2 separate regions of the Homo sapiens genome follow, and region 2 is linked to region 1. Evidence: promoter capture Hi-C in 16 types of primary human blood cells and fetal thymus (Javierre and others, 2016). All regions are on one chromosome and are shown on one strand. Each heading gives the region's core, a stretch centred on a gene start or on the middle of the fragment in contact. The rest is flanking DNA. Distances are from core to core; before and after follow the strand shown.

The links. Contacts are between HindIII fragments. The CHiCAGO score rates a contact against its expected background, and 5 or more counts as called.
Region 2: a fragment that was not itself captured here is called in contact with the fragment with the promoter of ALDH4A1 in region 1 in 1 of 17 cell types (fetal thymus); the score reaches 12.3 in fetal thymus.

Annotation. Positions count from the first base shown.
Region 1 is chr1:18,900,092-18,904,345 of GRCh38, forward strand. It overlaps ALDH4A1 (aldehyde dehydrogenase 4 family member A1), which reads right to left and starts at 2,464. Exons shown (of 15, transcript NM_003748.4): 1 at 2,371-2,464. The coding sequence starts at 2,432. LOC124903866 (a long non-coding RNA gene) reads left to right here and starts at 2,022. Exons shown (of 2, transcript XR_007065519.1): 1 at 2,022-2,161; 2 at 2,719-3,280. It overlaps IFFO2 (intermediate filament family orphan 2), which reads right to left. Exons shown (of 9, transcript NM_001136265.2): 9 at 4,189-4,254. RefSeq lists a silencer at 2,231-2,450 and enhancers at 2,531-2,760, 2,700-3,517. The HindIII fragment of the contact is 9,883 bases long and covers 1-2,760 here.
Region 2 is chr1:18,640,874-18,645,127 of GRCh38, forward strand. All of the region lies in intron 4 of PAX7 (paired box 7), which reads left to right. Among named protein-coding and RNA genes, the nearest start is that of PAX7, 12 kb to the left of the region's middle. RefSeq lists an enhancer at 78-599. The HindIII fragment of the contact is 6,318 bases long and covers 1-4,254 here.

The sequences.
Region 1 (4,254 bases), core at 1,214-3,713:
GTGATTTTTCTATTTTTTTGCCTTATCTGTACTTTTCACAGTTGACATGTATTAAACTAAAAGAAAACATGTATCAAGGGTATTTTTTAAAACTAGCAGAGATTCCTGGCACTCAAGGCAAAAAAGAAAACACTAAGAAGCATCTCCTATACCCGTTCCTCAAAAGCAGCGGTTTTTCTCAGGACTAGAGTTTTACACGTAGGACACTGAGGGATGTCACTGAAAATGCCCTGCGACTGTTTCTCCATAAATGCAGACATGGCATGTCACGGGTGTGCTCTAAATGTTCACTGAGTAAATGAACAAGTGATCAAACATCAAAGCTGTTCCTCTAGAGCACTGGCTCTCAACCGGAGGTGACTTTTGTCCCCCAGGTAACATCTGACAATGTCTGGGAACTTGTGTTTCCTGTCAGGGCCAGGGTTTTTTTCGTAATTGTCAGGGCCGGGGGTGCCCCTGACATGCAGCGGGTAAAGGCCAGAGACGCTGCTAAACATTCTACAGTGCACAGGACAGACTCCACAGCAACCAAAATGTAGCCCCAAATGCGAATAGTGGTGAGGTTGAGAAATCCTGTCTAGGGCATGCGGCCAGCTGCTGTATCAAAGGGGTAACTTGAGCCCAGGGAACCAGCTGCAAAATGCTCTTTCTCTTTCCCCTCTCAATTCAGGAGGCCTCATAATTCAGAGCATAAATCTGGATTTAGACCAAATGTAATTTCAGTCATATATCTCTGATGGCAGATCGTTTCCCATGATAATACAGGAATGAGACAGTACTTACCGGCTCGGTGTTAGGCCCATGGTGCTTGATTGCTTGATAATCATTATTGTTATCATGGGCTTATCTTTTAGAATATGGATTGCTTTCTACTAGATATTGGAGGGTTTTCCTATGCATTTCTCCCCTATTAAGCCGAAAACTCCTCAAAGGCCCCACCCCATGTAAATTCCCTGGGTACCCCTCATCTCTAGGGTGTTTGGCAGAGCACCAGCTCACAGTAGGCACTCAGTAAACACAGGACTCTATAAGCTCCATCTTCCTGAGTCTCAGAGTGCAGGGAAGGCCTGCAAACGGGATCACACAGGGAGTATGGCAAGTGTGGCCCCAGTCTCAGCCTAGAAGAGGAACCCCTCTGTCCCATGTCCTCTTCCTGCGCCCTTTCCTATCCCCTCTTCACCCACAGAGGACACACAGCAGTGTTGCAACTCACTTGTGCTCAGAGCACCACCATGCCATCCCTTGGGGGAAGGGAGAGGGCCACTGATTAACTCAGAAAGGGCACAGCTCATCAGGAAAGACACTGCCACTAACAGCCCCAGGGGTCAAGCAAACAAACCTCAAATGGGAGGGGGGGCTGATCCACAGGTGGGCAGCCCCACCAGACTAGGAACCCCTCTGGGGCAGGGTCTGTGTCCCACCTACCTCTCCAAACCTAGCTCCGAGCTGGAGGGGCTCTGAGAATATTTGTCATTGAGTGGGCAAGGGTCCAGGCACCTGGCTCCACAATGTCAGGTTTGCAAATCGGGATTTGAAGGGCAGGTCCACCCCTGAACTGCTCCTGGGTTTCTTCATTATTTGGAATAATGACCTGCCTCACAGGAGTGAGAAGTTTAAATAGAGGTGATAATGATGATGATCGTGGCAATAATAATAACCGGGCGCTGCCTTTGTGCTGGGCACTGTTCAGTGCACTCCCCATGTATTAACTCATTTAATCCTCATAAGACACCTGCCAATTGCCCGGCCAGCATTTGGTTCATTATAAGCACTCTATAAATATGATTATTCCACCTACAAGAAGAAAGGAATCCTTTTTTCTGTCCAACATTTAACTTGAAAAAAAAAAAAAAAAACGGGCGGCGGGGTGTGTGGGGAGCGGAAAAGAGAGAGGTAGAAATCCTGGTAGAAGGAGAGGACTCGGGGAATCCGGGGCGGGATGGGGACACTGAACGTGAGACGAGGGTGGGGAAGTGAGATGTGTGGTGTGCTAAAAATAGAAGGGCCCCTCAGGGGAAGCCAGCAAATTGCGAAGATCCAGTATTAGGAGTGAGGTGAGTGACTACAGAGGCTACTTTCCGAGCGTGGGAACCGGCAGGGCCACCGAGGCACCCTACTCGGTCGCAGGATTCGGGAAGAGGGGTCCCCTCGCTAAAGGAAGGTGACTACCTGAGGGAGGAGGCTAAGGGATCTCAGTGGGAGAAAGGCCTGGGTGGGGGTCGGAGGGGAGCCCCTGAGGAACCCGGCGTTGACCGAGGCAGCTTGGGGGTCCGGCAGGGAGGGAGTGCGGCGCGGGGGACGCCCAGTGACTCTCAGGCTCCCGGGCCCCAGGCGCGCGCTCGGGCCGCCCCGGGCCCCGTGCTCACTCACCCGGCCCCGGTCCAGGGGCGGGACAGCAGGGCGCGGCGGAGCGCGGGCGCCGGCAGCAGCATCTCGGGTTAGAAGCGGGGCTGTTCGCTGGATCGTCCGCCCGGGCGCGGCGAGAATGCACAACCCCGTCCAGAGCGCACCACCTCGATCCTCGGGGGGAAACGGATCACCCCGGCTGTCCTCCGAGCTCGGGATCAGCCAAAGTCCCACTATATTTAGCTTCGGCTAATAAAAAATATTTCTAGTGCCATAACGGGGGCATTACACAACACAGGACAAGGGAACCCGAAAGCGAAGTCCTGAAATGCATGCGTTTTCCCCTCCTCTCTTTATGGTATGACCCGGGAGAGAGGGCGTGAACTCTGTCGACCAGTCAGAGTGACACACCAAAGCTTCTGAACCAATCAGCGGGGCGGTCCTGCGGCAGCCTTCCAAAGCGGAGCAGAGAGGGGCTGAATAGAGCCAATGAGATAACCGAAATGGGACACGTGCTGAAGCGGGGCAGAAGGACTCGCTGCGTCCGGCCCTCTGGCGTGCGCCCCGGGTTCGATGGGAGTCCGACTGACTTCTCTCGGGCTGCCGGTGGCTTGTACAAGGCTGGAAACCTGTCCGCTACCAGACTCCTCGACCCCGCAGGGCCACAGCGCGGCCAGCCCCCTGCTTCTTCCCGGGGGCTGCGGCCCCTGGAATGAGCCTGCCTTCCAGCTTCTTGGCCAGGACCCAGCCGCTCTCCACCTACCCTCCAGGCGCGGGGCCGGCCAGCTTCTTAGCTTCCTTGCAGATTACGATCAATGCAAGATAAAACCTGAGCTGGCCAACGCTTAGCTTTTCATTTAAAGCCTTTGGCCGCAAAACCAGTTGTTCCTGAGCCTTTTACCCCCAAGTAAAAATTTCAGCTTTCTTTGCAAAATGTTGTGTGCTTGGTAAACACTAGAATGCTATTTAAAACTTGGATTCTGAAGTCTTCTCTGATGACGAGGTCTCAGGGACCCAATCTATTCCTAAAGTAATGTTACGTTTCCTTACTCTCTGTTCTAATTTGTTTATATTTCTTCCAGCAGCATGAACCGCGCACCTGCTTAGGAGTCAGTTCCCATGCTGATTTTGGTTCCTCAAGCAGGGCACTAGGCAGACTACATATCCTTTCCGGGCCTCAGTTTCCTCATCTGTAAAACGGAAGTAATAGTACCCAACTCACAAAGCCCCCGTGATCTTAAGCCACTTATTTTTCTCCAGATTACACCATTTGAGGTACTTTGGGAGAATGTAAACATTTAAATGAAGAGTAGGAGAGGGAGATTACCTAAATGCCAAGTATTAGGAATGGCAAAAAGCAAATTGGAATTGGTGGCGGCTATTTGTCTTCACCTTTGGAGAAAACCCTAGACAGGTGGGCTCAGTTCACATTTGGGCAATGTTGCCCTGAACATGCCCATTGACAAGAAAAACTAGAACATTGGTTACTGTCAAATCCAGAGCCTGGGAAGGTGACCTCCTGTGGGCACGTTGGAGAGCCTGGAAAAATGGGGGCTTTGTGGTTAAAAGGACATCAGTTCCAAACCAGGCCAAGCCAGTTACTGAGCCTGTGATGTCTCATGTCCTCTCTTCCCCTTCAGTAAAATGTGTGTAATGATTCCTGCTTTGTCATCTTCCAAAGCTTTTATTGTGAGCTACAAATGTAACAGGTGATATGAAATCCCCTATTTTATGGCTAATTAACTAATGAGTTTGAGGGTTTCTGTGGCCTTCCGTCCTCCTACCCCTCCCCCAACACCAGATTCATCTTCTGTTTAAAAACAAAAACAAAAAAAAGCACCATCAGTTCTAAGACATTTCACTTTATTTAAAAGAAGCCAATATACAGGATATAAAGGGCATGATATT
Region 2 (4,254 bases), core at 529-3,028, 260 kb before region 1:
GCGTGCGGAGCTGGGAACGTCCCGGCGGAGGGGGCTCCCGGCGGAGGGGGCTCCCGGCGAGGGGCCGAGCCCACACTGGGCTGACAAGGCTCCCCTTTTCTTCCCTCCATCCCCCCAACCGAAGAAGAGAGAGGGGGAGGCGGGAGCAGAGACTAACGAGAAACAACAATGAGGAGATAACTATTACAAAGGCAAACACTGGCGCTCGCGCGCTCGCAGCCCCAGAACCCGCGGTAAATAAACAAAGTCTGCAAACTGTTTGCTAGATAAACTCGTGCCTAAATTGAGTGTGACGAGCAAGGAGAGAAGAGACAGAAGGAGATAAGGTTGGAGGGGGATGAATGAGCATAATCTAATAGAAGACATTTAGAAAACAAACTTTAAACAAGGGAGAACAGGCGAGCGGAGGGCAATTATCCGCCCCAGAGAGCGGGGGAAGCCGTCGGAGGTCTGGGAAGGGGTGGAAGGGAGGGGACTGGGAGCTGCGGAAGAGCTGAGTGTTGGGGGGTGCCTTTGGGACTCCGTGGGGAGCCAAGAGGGGCTCCCCAGGGCGCGCAAGAAAAGAGGCTCGGTTCCCGGATTGAGTGAGGTTCCCGTGCTCAGCCGGTCTTGGAACGCAGGCACGTCTGAACCGGGTGGGGTCCCCCGCTGCGAGGGCGTGCGGGTTTTGTGTTCCCCTCGGGGCACGCACCGCCACACTTGGGCTGTTTCAAGGCGTTTGTACCTAAAAGACTAGTGTGCACGGCGCAGCGGTTAAAGGAATTAGATATTTACCAGTTTGAAATAAGCCTGGCTAAGAAGAAGAGAGAAGAGAGACATTGAAAAGACGAGGCTGGGGGAAGACTTCAAACGAATTCATCATTTGGAATGGTGGAGGGGAGATTTACCAGACAGTATTGGGAAGTTATTTAGATATTAATAACACATTTTCCTGAGGCGCGACCACAGCAGCCATCTGCGCTGCTCTCGGAGCTATTTGGCTGGGTAAAATATGGGCGTCTCAAATGTTGGGAAGAGATAACGCAATCAGGCTAACCCTGGTCCTGAGACTGCATCGCAGCGTTAAACCCGGATTAACCTCCCCCCCCCCAACTCCCGCGGCCCCCTCCCCTTTCACAGCTTTCCAAATTTTCAGTGGAATTTACATGGAAGGATTTAAAAGCACATATAACAGTAGCCTTAAAGCAGTAAGGTGATTATTTGGGCTTTTTTTTTTAAGAATGTCTTTCTGAAAATGATAGTTGTCACACATTACATTATATATAAATAATATTATATAAAACATATTTTTATATAGGAAAAGAGGGCTGAGCAAATGAGATTTCATTCCAGGTTACCTCTTTGGAGTTTCTATTTGCCATCATTCTATCACCATCAACAAAGTTGATGAGGCTTCATTCTGTACTGTGAGGCAAGAGCACCTAAGGATATAAACATGTAATGTACAAGGTCCTGGCCGTGGCCCTGGAAGCTCATAGTCTAAGACTAGACAGAACTCACACCCCTGAAAAGACAATGCCTGGTTGAGGGAAGGGTTCCTGCACAGAGGAGAGACCCCCAAAGAAAGGTTCTCTAGAGGCTCTGGGGCCTTGAAGGCCATGACTAAGGGGGGAGGACACATTCCAGAAATTCCAGAAAAATAGCTCTTCTCTCCCTCCCATTGCAGACTAAAGGGGTAATTAGCAAACAGGATGAGGGTTAGAGGCGCTGGGAAGATTAGGATGCCCCCCTCAGTTTTTGCTGTCCGGGGCCTTCCCTCTTCTTTTCCCCTTCCCCCAACTCTGGCTGAAAGAGGAAAAGGTGGAAATGGGGTCAGCGCTTTCTGACCTGCTCTGGAGCGATTGGCCCCGGCTGGGGTGGAGCAGGGGGAGGGAGGGAGGGAACTCGCCTTCCCAAATCGAATCAAGGCAGAACGGTGACCTAAGGGGGAAACTTCGCCATTAGTAGATAGATGTCTCCAAAACTTCAAACGAAGTGGGGTGGGGGAGAGGTGAGGCGGGGAAGGAGTCCAGTGAGAGCGCAGGGGGAACTACCAGCATGGGAAGGGGAGGGGCCTGGAGGAGGAAGAGACGGGGTCGAGGGCAAAGGGGAGGCGGGGGCCAAAGGAAAGGGTGTGGGGAGGGGATGCGAAGGGAGGGGGTCGGCTGCACTTGGAACTTCAACCTCCTGGGAGAGGAAAAGCGTCTGCGGGTCGCTACAGCCTCGGGAGGGGTGAAGGGAAGTTGTGTGCGCCCCAAGTCCAGCTCAAAAGAGGCCCCGAGGGCATTCTAGGGCGCCTTGGGCACGCGTGCCAGGCCCCCGGTTTGGCAGCCGAGCTGAGCGAGGGTGGATTGCGAGGGGCACTGGGGCCGCCGCGGAGCTCTGCGTGTCGGCTGCCAGTGAATTGGCCGATTTCCCCAGTCTGAGGGTCAGCGAACGGACCTTTCCATGGCTTGGTCGCCCTGGTCCTGGAGGTGCGCTGGGCCCGAGCTCCGGTGGAGACCAAGGGAGGGGTGGGGAGAGGCAGCGGAGACAGAGAGCCACAGAGGAGGAGAGAGCTAGAAAATTCAGAGTGAGAAAGTCTGAGCGCAGCAGAAGAGAATCTTGCGCACAGTTTGAGGACGCTGGAAAATGCGGAGGCGCCGAGGGAGGCGCCGAGCAGCAGGAAGAAAGACAAAGAGATGCAGAATCACCGAGAGACTGGCCCTGGGACAGGCGGATCAGGAGAGCCAGCGGGACCTAGAGACAGCCCGCGGGAGAGCACGGGCCGAGAGGGCGAGTGCTCAAAGCCGGGCAGCGGCTAGGGGAAGATAGGAGGCGGGCGAGCCGCGGCCGCCCTTTTGATCCTTCGTGGCTTCGCCTTATCAGAAGCGCTTTCGGTGACATCCGCACAAAGGCAGTTCATCATATTACAGCACGTCCCGGCGGCTCGCTGCGATCCTGCCGCTTAATTAGAGGCGAGCGAGCTGGGCCGGCAGGGCGGGAGGGAGGCCGACCCCGAGGCGGGAGGCCGGGTTCTGCGCTCCAACCCGGGGCGCTGGGCAGGGGCCAGCCCGCGTGCCTGGCGGTGTTGGGACGTGGAGAGAGGGAGAGGCCGGGAACTGCATTCAGAGCGTTGCTAAATTAACAGGCCGGCCCGGGCTTCACTGCCCGGAGAGTGAAGCTCGCCGCCTTCCAATTTAGCCGCCGCCCCTTCTAAGTTCTTGGGAAGGGATGGCGCTCCGGCCACTTTCCCCTCTTCCAGGCTGCGAACGCTGCGGACTGGAGGGCGAGTAATGGGGAGGCAACCCAGGGCGAGCTGAAGGCTTAGTGCAACTCCGGGTCCAGGTCGCACCCACCAGCCCCCCGCGGCTGTGTTCCATCCCCTCCTCCGACCGCCTTGCTCTCCATCCGAACCCAGGTGTGCCAGGCTGGAGCAATCTGAGAGGGGCAAAGTGCATCGTGGTCGAGGTTCTACTGTCCATCCCACCCGCAACTCACTAGCGATATCACTCTAGACAACCCATTCAACTTCTTTGGGCCTCAGTTTCCTTCCATGAAAAAAGAGAATTAGCTAAGACAAATGTTGTTATCCTTTTAGGGGATCCTGGATCCCTTTAAGAATAGGCTAAAACCGAAAAAATAATTCTAAAACCTTGCCATTTACATACTTATATACTTTCATACAGGCAGAATTTTTCATCTAGTATAAAGGGGTCTTTGGGGCTTCTAGAGGCCACACCCCATTCAGAACCTCACATCTGCGTGCTTCCTGATGACTTCAGTATTCTCCAGGGAGCTTCTGATTCCAGCATCAGGAAGCTCAAAATGAGGACATGGGGCGGAGGGGCACTGAGATCCTGCCCTTGGTCTGGTCCTTGCTGCTTCCTCCCCTCTCCAAAACAGAGCGGAGAGCTTCTCCTCCACCCCACTTGGTATTGGAAGGGTCCTTTGGGAAGTGTTTATATGCTGATATAAGCACGTGTACTATGCTCCCCCTTTTACCTATACCACCCAAAAGAGAAATTTTCCTCTGGAGTGTATGTGTGTGAATGTCTTCATTCATTCTGCAAAAATTTTTGGAGCACCTACTAGGTGCCAGGCGTTGTGTTAAGTGACCTCAAGAAGGTCCCTGCCCTCATGGAGTTCTGAGCCAGGCGGTGGAGACAGAAAATAAACAAGCCCGCAAATAAACAGATGTGTCTCGTTATGTGTTTGTTGTGTGTTTACCTGGATAGCTTTGTGGGCTTCCCTCTTCGCAAGACTGTCTTGTGTCTGGGTGTTTGTGAATGGTGT